Linked DNA regions of Homo sapiens: regions 1 and 2 are each linked to region 3. Evidence: promoter capture Hi-C in 16 types of primary human blood cells and fetal thymus (Javierre and others, 2016). All regions are on one chromosome and are shown on one strand. Each heading gives the region's core, a stretch centred on a gene start or on the middle of the fragment in contact. The rest is flanking DNA. Distances are from core to core; before and after follow the strand shown.

Region 1 (4,575 bases), core at 1,024-3,523, 410 kb after region 3:
CTGAACACATTGGCTTAAGCTGGGCCCTGGGTATCTCAGTTTTCCCCATGTCTTGCATGTTGAGGCAGAGTTGGTCCCAGACATGCCTTCTCTAATCCTATGGCATGTGTGCCAGTCCAGAGGTGGCCCAGGACGTCCTGGTTCCTTAAGCGTGGCCCTGATGAAGGGGAAGGGATAGTGAGAAGACACAGGATAAAAAGCCAGTTAGAGAGCTCATCTCTGGACATGCTTCCCGTCTTGTCCTTGACATGCATGCTGACCCACTGCTGGGCCTTGGGCATTCTGCCCTTTTCAGCTTGACAGACTGATGCTGCCCCCACCTCCCCATCCGAAAGCCATGATTTGACATTTTTAAAAGACCGAAGAAAAGAAAGAAAATTTATCTTTTCTGTTTATCCCTCCTTTTATCATTTTTAGCACTTTTATTTCCTCTGGAAAATTTCCATCTGGAATAATTTACCTTTGGCCTTGTCAACTTAAAAATTCAAGAAATGTACATATTTGGAAAGGATACTTTATTTCTTACAAAGAGTTGCAACCTGTAGGCTGGCCATCCCACAGGCTGGGAAGCGTAGCCTTTGGCAGAGCCTGAAAGGTAGGCACTTCAGAGGAGGAGGGGTTGGAACAGGAATTTGTGCTGAATGGGTTTGTGCTGACCAAGTATATACATATTCAACAGGTTATAGGAGGAGTTATGAATATTCATGGAGGGGGTCCTGATGCATGTGTACTGAACAGACATGCAATTTATTTTATTTTATTTATTTTTTTTGAGACAGTTTCACTCTTGTTGCCCAGGCTGGAGTGCAATGGCGCGATCTTGGCTCACTGCAACCTCTGCCTCCCGGGTTCAAGCGATTCTCCTGTCTCAGCCTCCTGAGTAGCTGGGATTACTGGCGCATGCCACCAGGCCTGGCTAATTTTTGTATTTTTAGTAGAGACGGGGTTTCATTATATTGGTCAGGCTGGTCTTGAACTCCTGACCTCAGGTGATCCACCCGCCTCAGCCTCCCAAAGTGCTGGATTACAGGCATGAGCCACTGTGCCTGGCCCAAACATGCATCTTTTTTTTTTGAGATGGAGTCTTGCTCTGTTGCCCAGGCTGGAGTGCAGTGGCGCGATCCTGGCTCACTGCAACCTCCGCCTCCCAGGTTCAAGCGATTCTCCTGCCTCAGCCTCCCAAGTAGCTGGGATTACAGGCGCCTACCACCACGCCTGGCTAATTTTTGTATTTTTGGTAGAGACAGGGTTTCACCATGTTGACCAGGCTGATCTCTAACTCCTGGCCTCAAGTGATCTGACTGTCTCGGCCTTCCAAAGTGCTAGGATTACAGGCGTGAGCCACCTCGCTTGGCTAATTTTTTTTGTATTTTTAGGAGCGACAGGGTTTCACCATGTTAGCCAGGATGGTCTCGATCTCCTGACCTCGTGATCCACCTGCCTCGGCCTCCCAAAGTGCTGAGATTACAGGCGTGAGCCACTGCATCTGGCCCAAACATTCATTTTTAAAAGAACTTTTAGGTTCAGGGGTACATGTGCAGGTTTGTTATATAGGTAAACATCTGTCATGGGGATTTGGTGTATAGATTATTTCATCACCCAGGTACTAAGCGTAGTATCTGACAGTTATTTTTTCCAGACAGGCATGTTCTTTGCATTCCATGTTCACTTTGAGGTGGAGACAACATTATATTCAGGCCCCATACCTCAAAAGGTGAAGCAAGGAGACAGGGCACTCAAGTGCACAGCCTCTATAAACTGGCTAGAACCAGTCTGTGGCTGGTGGTCTTCTTGTCAGGAGAGAGTTACTGAAGTCAGTCTCTTATACAGTCACAGCTATAGTTTTGGCTTGTGGAACAGGAGGTCAGTTGGCATCTGGTGGTGAGTTGCAGTTGTTTTCCTATTGCTTATCCAGGACAGTGCTTGTTTGGCTGCTAGAGAAAAAGAAGAACCCTGTGGCAGTTAGAACAGAGTTGATCTTGAAGAGTCAGACTGTGTGGCTGAATCCTTACCTGGCACGGTCGTAGGTCTTGTTTATAATTTGGTGTCTTTTTTTCCCCATGATCTTCATGAACGCATGTAATTTGGTATTTTATTGCCACAGAGTCCATTCTGTCAGTTTTGTGGTCTCTATTTTAACATTAATGCTGGTCAGTTGTGCCTGAACTACAAAAGGGAGGGAATATAATGAGGTGCGTCCCAAGGCATCTTGTCATGGCTGGAACCAAAACAGGCTTTGTTCAGTCAGTTGGAGTGCTTAGGATTTTATTTTTAGTTCTTAGCCTGAAGACCTTGCTTAGAATTTTTCATGGTGTAGGTCTGACACATTGTTTCACCTTTTATTATCTGAAAATACCTTCATTTCATCTTCATTTTTGAAGGATAGTTTTACAGCAGCAGTCCCCAACCTTTTTGACACCAGGGACCGGTTTCGTGGCAGACAGTTTTTCCATAGACCAAAGTGGGGAAAAGGTTTTGGGATGAAACTTCCATATCAGATCATCAGGCATTAGATTCTCTAAGGAGTGCGTAACCTAGATCCCTCCAACACACAGTTCAGGGTTTGTACTCTTATGAGAATCTAATGCAGCCACTGATCTCACAGGAGGCGGGGCTCAGGTGGTAATGCTTGCTGGCCCTCCACTCACCTCCTGCTGTGTGCGGCCTGGCTCCTAACAGGCCACGGACCCAGACCAGTCTGTGGCCTGGGGGCTGGGGACCTCTGTTTTACAGGATATAGAATTCTAGGTTGACTGTTTTCTTTCAGCATTTTTTATTATTTATTTATTTATTTATTTTGAGATAGAGTCTCGCTTTGTCACCCAGGCTGGAGTGCAGTGGCGTGATCTTGCTCACTGCAACCTCCACCTCCTGGGTTCAAGTGATTCTTTTGCCTTAGCCTCCTGGGTAGCTGTGATTATAGGCACATACCACCACGCCCAGCTAATTTTTTTTTGTATTTTTAGCAGAGATGGGGTTTCACCATGTTGATGGGGCTGGTCTTCAACTCCTGACCTCCAGTGATCTGCCTGCCTGAGCCTCCCAAGGCGTGAGCCACCATGCCCAGCTTCTTTTGGCATTTTAAAGATGAAGACTCATTATCTTCTGGCATCCATTTTTTCTCTTGAGAAGTTACCTGTCATTTTTGTTGTACTGAATGTCTTTTATTTGACAGTTTTAAGAATTTCTTTTTTTTTTTTTTGAGATGGAGTCTTACTCTGTCGCCAGGCTGGAGTGCAGTAGCGCAATCTCAGCTTACTGCAACCTCTGCCTCCCAGATTCAAGTGATTCTCCTGCATCAGCCTCCCAAGTAGCTGGGATTACAGGCATGCACCACCATGCCAGGCTAATTTTTGTATTTTTAATAGAAATGTGGTTTTGCCATGTTGACCAGGCTGGTCTCGAACTCCTGACCTCAGATGATCTGCCTGCCTCGGCCTCCCAAAGTGTTGGGATTATAGGCGTGAGCCACTGCGCCTGGCCTTTTTTTTTTTTTTTTTTTTTTGAGACAGGGTCTCACTCTGTTGGCCAGGCTGGAGTGCTGTGGCGTGATCTCGGCTCACTGCAACCTTGCAACCTCCGCCTCCCGGGTTCAAGTGATTCTCCTGCCTCAGCCTCCTGAGTAGCCGGGACTACAGGCATGCACCACTGTGCCCGGCTAATGAAAAAAGTTTTTTAAATATAGATGGAATCTCAGTATGTTGCTCAGGCTGGTCTTGAACTCCTGGCCTCAAGCCATCCTCCTGCTTCCGCCTCCTGGGATTACAGGAATGAGCCACCGCACCTGGCTGGGTTTTATACTTTGGTTTGGTAGATCAGTTTTGATCTTTGTCCTTACTCTTAGGGTAAATTTCTTAGTCCTGGAATGTATGTTTTACTCCTAAGATGTGGCCTTTGTGGGGTTTCAAATGGATAGTCTCAAGTGTTTAAGGTACTGATTAAGCCCCTTTAACTTGGCAGGACTTGGACTCCAAACTCTTATCTACCCTGCAGCTAGGGAGAGCTAAAATCTCAGCTTTTTTTTTGAGACGGATCTTGCTCTGTTACCCAGGTTAGAGTGCAATGGTGTGATCATAGTTTACTGTGACCTTAAACTTCTGGGCTCAAGCAATTCTCCTACCTTAGCCTCCCAAGTAGGTAGGACTACAGGCATGCACTATCTGGCTAATTTTTATTTTTGTAGAAATGGGGTCTCACTATGTTGCCCAGGCTGGTTTCAAACTCCTGAACTCAAGTGATCTTCCTGCCTTGGCCGCCCAAAGTGCTGGGATTATAGGCATGAGCTCCCGCACCCAGCCATCAGCTTGCTCCTTCAACCTTCAAGCTATCGTGTCCTTTCTGGGCTTGTGGGAGTCTCACCTCCGCTTACGCAGTTCAGGGTTCAGCCAAAGATTTGAGGGGACCTTATACTCAGACTTTGGGTTCCTTTTTTAGTGGGTTCCTCCTTTCCTATATTTCCCTCTCAATTTCCAGCTTCTTTAGCAGTCTCAAATCCTCCTTTAACCTGTCAGGCCAATAAAATTGCAGCTTTTTTTTCTCTGCTCCACTCCTCTGAGACTGGGGCATACTCTCAGG
Region 2 (4,698 bases), core at 1,761-4,260, 310 kb after region 3:
GGCAGTAGCATACAATAAAATACTCAGTATGTGTGCTGAGCACAGTGGCTTCTTCCTTTTTTTTTTTTTTTTTTTTTTTTTTTTTGAGAGAGAGTTTCCCTCTTGTCACCCACTTTCCCTCTTGTCCACTGCACTAGAGTGCAGTGGCGACATCTCTGTTCACTGCAACCTCCGCCTCCCGGGTTCAAGCAATTCTCCTGCCTCAGCCTCCCAACCAAGTAGCTGGGATTATAGGCATGTGTCACCACGCCCGGCTAATTTTTGTATTTTTAGTAGATACGGGGTTTCTCCATGTTGGTCCAGCTGGTCTCGAACTCATGACCTCAGGTGATCCACTTGCCTCAGCCTTCCAAAGTGTTGGGATTACAGGTATGAGCCACCGCACCCGGCTGGCTTGCACTTGTTATACAAACGCGTTGAGAGGCCAAGGCAGGAGGATTGCTTGAGGCTAGGAGTTCAAGACCAGCCTGGACAATATGGTGAGACCATATCTCTACAAAAAATAAAAAATTGTCCAGGAGTGGTAGTGTGCACCTATAGTCTCAACTACTTGGGAGGCTGAAGCGGGAGGTTTGCTAGAGCCCAGGAGTTTGATGTTACAGTAAGCAATGATGGCAACACTACAACATTGCCACTTCAGCTTGGACAACAGAGTGAAACCCTGTCCCCCTGAAAACTCCCAAAAACCTCAGCATAAAAATAAGTAAATAAATAAATAAAATGTGCAGACAAACTAAAGCCAGCCGGAACGGCTAATAAGAGAGAAAATGAATCAAGATTTGAAAAAAACACAGGAGGCTGGGTGAGATGTGAGATGGCTCACACCTGTAATCCCAGCACTTTGGGAGGCTGAGGCAGGAGGATCGCTTGAGCTCAGTAGTTTAATATCAGCCTGGCCATGGTGGAGAAACCCCGATTCTACGAAAATTTAAAAAAAAAAGAAGAAGAAGAGGCTGAGTATGTGGTGCGTGCTTATGGTCTCAGCTACTCATGAGGCTGAGGTAGGGAGATCACTTGAGCCTAGACATTTGAGGCTGCAGTGAGCTGTGATTGCGTCACTGCACTTCAGCCTGGGTGACAAAGTGAGACCTTGCCTCAAAAAACAAAGCAAAACAAAACAAATCCACAAGAGACCCTGGCAAAGATCTCTGTGCGAGGCAGAGAACTTCAGTGGTTCAGCTGCACCCCCACAATGTTTATTAAAATTAATCTATGAACATAGACAAAGATTCAAAGGCAGCACAGAAAATGATTTTATTCGTAGGCATGGTAGAATTGTGGGTGCCTTTTTCCTTTTCCTTAAAATTCCTATGTTTCCCAATTTAACTACTGTGCAAATACTACTAATAAAGAAATCCTGTATGAAAGACAAGATTGGAGAAACCAGGTTGACAGCAGCTCAAGAGAAGGAGGCTCAGAAAGGCCTGGCCTCAGGCTCTGTCATTGTGGGTGGGGCCCGCAGAGCAGTTCAGGAGGATGAGTCCAGACTGGGCAACACAAGAAAAAAGGAAGACCACAGAATGGGACAAAATAATTGCAAAGCATACATCTGATATGGGATTAATATGCAGGCTATCATATAAAGAATTAAAGCTGAGGTTGGGCATAGTGGCTTGTGCCACCATGGATCACCTGAGGCCAGGAGTTCAAGACCAGGCTGAGCAACATAGTGAAACCCTGTTTCTACAAAAGATAAAAATAAAAATAAGGCCAGGCACGGTGGCTTCCACCTGTAATCTCAGCACTTTGGGAGGACAAGTGGGCAGATGAGTTTCAGACCAGCCTGGTCAACATGGGGAAACCTCGTTTCTACTAAAAATACAAACATTAGCCAGGCATGGTGGTGCACACCTCCTGGTCTTGGGAGGCTAGGCCCGAGAATCACTTGAACCCGGGAGGTGGAGGTTGCAGTGAGCACTCCAGCCTGGGTGACACAGTGAGACTTTGTCTCAAAAATAAATAAATGAATAAATAAAAATAAAAAGTAGAAATTAGGTGGGTGGGTATGGTGGCTCACGCCTGTAATCCCAGCACTTTGGGAGGCCGAGGCAGGTAGATCATGAGGTCAGGCGTTCGAGACCAGCCTGGCCAACACAGTGAAATCCCATCTCTACTAAAAATATAAAAAATTAGCCAGGCATGGTGGTGGGCGCCTGTAACCCCAGCTACTTGGGAGGCTGAGGCAGGAGAATCGCTTGAACCTGGGAGGCAGAGGTTGTGGTGAACCAAGATTGCACCATTGCACTCCAGCCTGGGCAACAAGAGTGAAACTCCGTCTCAGAAAGAAAGAAAGAAAGAAAGAAAGAAAGAAAGAAAGAAAGAAAGAAAGAGAGAGAGAGAGAGAGAGAGAGAGAAAGAAAGAAAGAAAGAAAGAAAGAAAGAAAGAAAGAAAGAAAGAAAGAAAGAAAGAAAGAAAAGAAAGAAAGAAATTAGCCAGGCATGGTGGCACACGCCTGTAGTTATAGCTACTTGAGAGGCTGAGATAGGAGGATTGCTTGAGCTCAGAAGTTGGAGGCTACAGTGAGCTATAATTGCGCCACTGCACTCCAGCCTAGGTGACAGAGCAAGATACTGTCACTAAAAAAAAAGAAAAAAAGCGGCGGGCGCGCTGGCTCACGCCTGTAATCCCAGCACTTTGGGAGGCTGAGGCGGGCAGATCACGAGGTCAGGAGATTGAGACCATCCTGGCTAACACGATGAAACCCCGTCTCTACTAAAAATACAAAAAATTAGCTGGGCATGGTGGCGGGCACCTGTAGTCCCAGCTACTCGGGAGGCTGAGGCAGGAGAATGGCATGAACCCAGGAGGTGGAGCTTGCGGTGAGCAGAGATGGTGCCACTGCACTCCAGTCTGGGTGACAGAGCAAGACTCTGTCTCAAAAAAAAAAAAAAAAAAAAAGAACAAAAACTCAACAATAAAAAACCCACATAACCCAATTCAAAAATGGCAAAGGACCTGACAAAGCATTTCTCTGGAGAAGACATACAAATGGCCTACAGCACATGAAAGGACCTAGTGCTCACTTTGCATAAGTCACCGACTGAATACTTAGGATATATATCTGTTATACTTCAATTAAAAAGTTTAAAATGTATTACGGGGACCCTGGGGGGTCATTTAGATGGTAATGATTTGGCTGACCAAACTTCTAGATCCTAGAAATCCATGCGTCTTGATTGCCAAACTTCAGGCCTGGCCTTGGAAGAAAGACGTTGGCAGGAACCCAAGGAGGTTCAGGGGTCAGGGGTCAGCAGTCAGGGTGAATGGGGATCCAGGCTGCAGCCCATACAGCCAGGGCTAGTGCTGGGCTCAGTCCCAGCAGGAAGTCACAAGGCCAGGAGGCAGATGGCCTCTGCAGCAGGGCAGAGTGGGGCTGAGGCCCGGGCCCGTGTGGTGTCTCAGTCTGGGGTGACCGTTGAAGCTGCCCGTGTCCTGCCCTGATCTCTCATGGCTTCTGGCCGGTGGTCCTGGGCCTGCAGCCAGCAAGGCAGAATGACAGGCAGGGACTGTGTCCCGGTGGGTTCTTGCCAAGAAGGGACCCAGTCCCCCACTGTGGCCCATGCCTTTCCATCTGTGACTTGTGACCCAATTCCATAGTCTTCCCACGGACCTGGGAAATTGCTTCATTCCCAATAATGGGAACTTTTTATGATGACTTTGCTGGTCTCAGAGGTATGCCAACTCAGCTCTCCAGAACTATAGGGAGAGACTGACACCCAGAGAGATGGCATGATTTGTCCCTGGGGGCAGAGTGAGAGAGAAGAGCCAGGGTTTCTAACAGCTGGGGCTCTCAGGCTCACTGCCCACCCCAGGGAGGGCAGTTTCAACTCTGCTCAGGACGGGTCAACACCTCTCCAAGTGCATTGTGGGCTGAGCCATATCTGAGAAACTGTTTAAAAGGAGGCATAAGAACATCATTTCTTTTAATTAAAAAAAAAATCTCAATTGCAAAACAAAATTGAGAGCCCAGGGGCTCATCACATTCCTGGTGCTGATGAAGTACAGAACTACAAGGCGGGGTTCTGTGCTTAAGGTCAGCTTTCTCTGCCATCTTCCCGACCCTTGCATCTACTTTCTCAGCTCTGGACAGTGTGGGATATTAGGAAAGGGCCGACTCCCATCCCATTTCCAGAAGCTGCAGTCTCTGCTCCTCACCAGCTGTGTGTTCTTCCATGTGGCTTGGCCAGATTCAGCAAATAGAGGCACCAGGAAGCACCAGGCACCCTGCTGCCCTCCCTTCAGCCTCGGGGGACATAGGCCCTGGCATGAGGAGGACCTGCATAGGCTTTCAGGAAGGAAAGCAGGAAATGGGCCCTGAGATAGGAATGTTTCTAAGGGCAGAATGGCCAGGCCGAGGTGAGGCAGGTCCTGGATCTGTCCAGGCCTCTTTCCTACCTGCCCTCCCACCCCCAACCCCCAGGCCCAGCCCCCGCCTTCAGATCAGCTGTCTACCTGAAGCTCCTTTCCTCCTGGCTGGTCACTGACTTCTGGCCACCACCAAGCTCACCACGTGGCTCTCTTTACAAACCTGCTTCACACACAGGCTGCTTCACACGCATGGTCCATTAGAGAGCCTGCTCCTGATGGCACACTTTGGGACACAGACACAAGCTGTCATTTGTTCAGACAGTATGGGAGTGCTCAGATTTAGAACCACTCAAAAATCATCCACAGTTATTGAGCACCTACTCTTTGTT
Region 3 (4,709 bases), core at 2,134-4,633:
GCTGAGAGGATCACTTGAGCCCCGGAGGTTGAGGCTGCAGTGAGCTGTGATCACACTACTGCACTCCAACCTGACACCTTGTCTCAAAAACAAACAAACAAAAAAGGTGCGGTCACTGTGGGAATTTATCACTTCCTGAAAAAGCTAGACAGAATTCCCATATAACTCAGAAATTACACTCCCAGGTATACAGGCAAAAGAATTATAAACAGGTGTAACCACAGGACCAGTTGAATCTGATTCAGTTTTTTTTTTTTTTTTTTTTTTTGAGATGGAGTTTTGTTCTTCTTGCCCAGGTTGGAGTGCAAAGGAGCGGTTTTGGCTCACTGCAACCTCCGGCTCCCGAGTTCAAACGATTCTCCTGCCTCAGCCTCCCAAGTAGCTGGGATTACAGGCACCCACCACCAGCCTGGCTAATTTTTTTGTATTTTTAGTAGAGATGGGGGTTTCGCCCTGCTGGCCAGGCTGGTCTTGAACTCCTGACCTCGGGTGATCCACCCACCTCAGTCTCCCACAGTGCTGGGATTACAGGTGTGAGCCATTGTGCCCAGCCTGGTTCAACTTTTATCAGTAACAAAATGATGAGTTGTTTTTCAGTTACAATAGATCCCCAGGCTGCAAGTCACGTAACCTAAGTATGCCCAGATGAACAAAGTGTGCCTGATAGCTGACCCTGGTGTCGGTGGGAACACAAAAGTCAACCACAGGCAGGACTTAACCACTCAAATGGAGGAATGGACACCAAATTAGGAAGCATGGGGCGCCTTGTTTTGCTGCAATATGAACTTAAAAGCCAAAGATCCAGCATTGCCCCTTTGCATGACCCAAACAGATCACACCTTGTTGTATTTTCCCATCTCCCTCATAGTTGCCTTCTGCCTATAAAACCTGCCCCCAGATTCCATCTTGGGGAGACAAATTTGAGTATTGCCTCTGGTTTCCCTGCTGGTCGACCTTACGATAAAGCCTTTTCTCAAAAGGTGATGACATAGTATTGGCTTCTATGTGCATCTAGCAGTGAGCCCACTGCTTGGTACCACAATGGGCTCAAACATTTATAAGCCAATGTTCATTGCAACATTATTCAAAACAGCAAAAAAGCAGAAATAACCAAGTGTCCATCAATAGATGAATAAATAAACAAAATGTGGTATATACATACAATGGAATATTATTCAGCCATAAAAAGAAATGAAGTTCTGGCCAGGCATGGGGGCTCATGCCTGTAATCCCAGCACTTTGGGAGGTCGAGGTGGGTGGATCACTTGAGGTCAAGAGTTCAAGACCAGCCTGGCCAACATGGTGAAACCCCATCGCTACTAAAAATACAAAATAAGCTGGGCGTAGTGGCGGGCGCTTATAATCCCAGCTACTTGAGAGGCTGAGGCAGGAGAATTGCTTGAATCTACAAGGCAGAGGTTGCAGTGAGCCGAGATGACACCACTGCACTCCAGCCTGGGCAACAAGAACGAAACACCATCTCAAAAATAAAAAAAGAAAGAAAGAAAAAGAAAAAAATATTAGCCAGGCATGGTGGAGCGTGCCAGTAGTCCCAGCTACTTGGGAGGCTGAGGCATCAGAATCACTTGAACCTGGGTGGCAGAGATTGCAGTGAGCTGAGATGGCACCACTGCCCTCCAGCCTGAAACCGAGGGAGATCCTGTCTCAAAAAAAAAAAAAAGAAATGAAGTTCTGACCCATGCTACAACACAGATAAACCTTGACAACCTCATGCTCAATGAAATAAGGTGGACACAAAAGGACATATACATTATGATTTCACCCACATAAAGTAATTGAGTAATCAAATGTATAGAGACCGTATAATAGAGGTTACCAAAGGAGAGAAGGACAGGAGGAGAAGGGGAAATAGGAAGTTATTGCTTAATGGTTACAGAGTTGCTGTTTCAGGTGATGAAAAAGTTTTGGAAATTGAGTGGTGACGGTTGCATAATATTGTGAATGTAATTAATGCCACTGAGTTATACACCTAAAAATGGTTAAAATGGCATTAAAAAAAAAAAGACAGTATCTTGCTCTCTGGCCCAGGCTGGAGTGCAGTGGTACAATCATAGCTCACTGCAGCCTCAATCTCTCAGGCTCAAGAGATCCTCCTGCCTCAGCCTCCCAATTAGCTGAGACTACAGGTGAGTGCCACTACACCTGGCTAATTTTCTTGATTTTTTAGTAGAAATGAGATCTTGCTCTGTTCCCCAGGCTGATCTGGAACTCCTGAGCTCAAGCGATCCTCCCGCCTCCACCTCCCGAAGTGCTGGGATTACAAGCGTGAGCCACTGCACCCAGCTGCAAATGTTTAGTACATACATTTTTACCGTAATTTATTTAAAAAAAAAAAAGGAAAAAAGAATACAGAAGTTTGTTCCTTGGTCTCTTCACCTCTTCCAGTCTCTAGATCCTTGTCACATACATTACCCTAACTTTGTTCTATAATAAGCACTTATACGCCCCCTTTTTTTGTTTGTTTTTTGAGACGGATTTTCGCTCTTGTTGCCCAGGCTGGAGTGCAATGGCACGATCTCGGCACACCGCAACCTCCGTCTCCCGGGTTCTAGCGACTCTCCTGCCTCAGCCTCCCGAGTAGCTGGGATCGCCACCACGCCCAGCTAATTTTTGTATTTTTAGTAGAGACGGGGTTTCCCCATGTTGGTCAAGCTGGTCTCGAACTCCTGACCTCAAGTGATCCGCCCGCTTCGGCCTCCCAAAGTACTGGGATTACAGGCGTGAGCCACCGCGCCCGGCCTTTCCCCAAATTTTAATACTTTAAAATAGGGAACATCTTACAATCAACAGGTTGTGACAGGTTAATTAGCCACGTTTTATCTTTGATAGGTAGCTCTAAAGTCAAGAAAACCCAGGCAAGATCCCGGGCAAGATCCCAGCACTGCCAACTGTCATTTGTAGACCGGGGATAGGAACACCTGTCTCACAGATTGTTACACAATAGCGCCGGTGAAGCGCTTGTCACAAAGCCTGACCCAGGACAATCTCAAAAACGGAGATTCTGTTATTCAAATTGTTTATTTTTGTGCGCTAAGTTTCACATCAACCCAACTATCTCTTGATAGGTTCCTACCAGGCGCTAGAGATATCTTACTTTCAGAAATTATTTATGATAGCAGAAGCCGCTGGAAGTCCATAGACAACCTCATCTCTCTAGCGGAGCAAACAGCTGGGCTCCAGCTGGCCCTGGCTTCTGCAACTGCGCAGTCGGCGCTGTGACGCCCGGCGCGGCTCTGTGACGTCACGAATCGGTCCTCTGTAAGAGGGGAGGGCATTCTTCTCCAGGGGAGGGCTACGTGTTGACGCCATACGCCGGGGCGGGGCCGAGAGTTTGGAGCCCCGGAGTGGGGTGTCGGCGCCTCATTCGGGTGGAGCTGAGCCGGAGACAGGTAACCGTGCGCTGTCGCCGCGCCCGTCCCAGTGCCGGGTGTCGCGGCGCTTGGCGGCCCGGGGTTGGAGATCGCGGTAAAGGGGGAGGCCGCCGCGCCCTTGGTGCTGCGGGCGCCGCGGTGACAGGGGAGTGGAGCTGGATGGAGTGGGGCTCACGGAGGGTGGTAGGAGGGACGGGACCTGATGGATGGCCGTGGCAGCCAATGGAGCCGCGGGGCCTGCCCGGCGGGCGGAGATTGGCGGGTACGGGCGGGCTCCGAGGTCGCGCGGGGCGCGGAGCGACGCGCCATTGGCGGTGGGCGAGCGGGGGGCGGGCGCGGCGGCGGATGTGAGGGAGAGGGCGGTGCGTCCGCAGGGGTGACCCCCAAGGTCGCCGCGGGCGTCACGTGGTTAGGCCGCTCTCCGACGGCGTCCTTCCCGACCGGGACGCACTCTCCTTCCCGCCTGTGAGGACCGCGTCGCTTTGTCCGAAAGACAGTGTGGCCTGCTCGAGTTGCGTCGGAGCATCTGGCTTTGGGGTGGCCCTGGGTGGGACTGCCTGTTTGGATTACCGCGCAGACCTTGGCGCCGCCCCCACACCTGCTGCCAGAAGTTGGGTCGAACAGATTGACCGAGATGAAGCTTATTTCTCGTAGAAACATCTTTCAAGCACCATTTTCCCTCGAAAATATATCAGACATTGGATATGAGTTGTAATCTACTGAGATTTAATAGAAAACTTGCCGCGCCCTCGCCCTGACCTGGGTGCGTCCCACCTGCCATCCCCATCCCTTTGCCCAGAACATAGGACTTCGTGTTAGGGTTTCCTTGTGCCTTGTCTTGCAGTCCGTACTTTGAGGCTGATTTCCAGGTACACTGCTCTGAACAGCTGGGTTTAGGATGGGTGGCATGGGATAAAGCCTTTTTTTGTAAGGCAGCACTAGTTGCAACAGTCAAACTGTACTTTGCCGTGTAGACCTAGGAGAGTATGTAACACTATTGTAGTTTTGTAAATTAGCTGAGGACTGGATCTTGGGAAGTTGAATAAAGATCACTGTATGCTCATTTTTTGTTGTTGTTGTCTTGTTTGAGATGGAGTCTCTGTCGCCCAGGCTGGAGTGCTGTGGCGCGATCTCGGCTCACTGCAACCTCTGCCTTCCTGGGTTCAAGTGATTCTCCTGCCTCAGCCTCCCAAGTAGCTGATATTACAGGCACGCGCCATCACGCCCGGCTAATTTTTGTATTTTTAGTAGAGACGGGTTTTCACCACCTTGGCCAGGCTATTCTCGAACTCCTGACCTCAGGTGATCCGCCCGCCT

What was found. The method cuts DNA at HindIII sites, captures the fragments that hold promoters and counts their contacts. A CHiCAGO score of 5 or more calls a contact.
Region 1: a contact is called between a fragment that was not itself captured here and the fragment with the promoter of OGDH in region 3, in 2 of 17 cell types (monocytes and total B cells). The highest score is 8.3, in monocytes.
Region 2: a contact is called between a fragment that was not itself captured here and the fragment with the promoter of OGDH in region 3, in 1 of 17 cell types (non-activated CD4 T cells). The highest score is 5.0, in non-activated CD4 T cells.

What each region holds. Positions count from the first base shown.
Region 1 is chr7:45,015,577-45,020,151 of GRCh38, forward strand. All of the region lies in intron 1 of CCM2 (CCM2 scaffold protein), which reads left to right. Among named protein-coding and RNA genes, the nearest start is that of CCM2, 18 kb to the left of the region's middle. The HindIII fragment of the contact is 4,740 bases long and covers 1-4,575 here.
Region 2 is chr7:44,908,742-44,913,439 of GRCh38, forward strand. It overlaps LOC105375262 (a long non-coding RNA gene), which reads left to right. Exons shown (of 2, transcript XR_927228.2): 2 at 1-39. Among named protein-coding and RNA genes, the nearest start is that of PURB, 26 kb to the left of the region's middle. RefSeq lists enhancers at 2,861-3,362, 3,363-3,862. The HindIII fragment of the contact is 6,622 bases long and covers 1-4,698 here.
Region 3 is chr7:44,603,244-44,607,952 of GRCh38, forward strand. It overlaps OGDH (oxoglutarate dehydrogenase), which reads left to right and starts at 3,384. Exons shown (of 23, transcript NM_002541.4): 1 at 3,384-3,410. RefSeq lists enhancers at 2,944-3,543, 3,795-4,358, 4,034-4,373 and a silencer at 3,584-3,813. The HindIII fragment of the contact is 8,395 bases long and covers 1-4,030 here.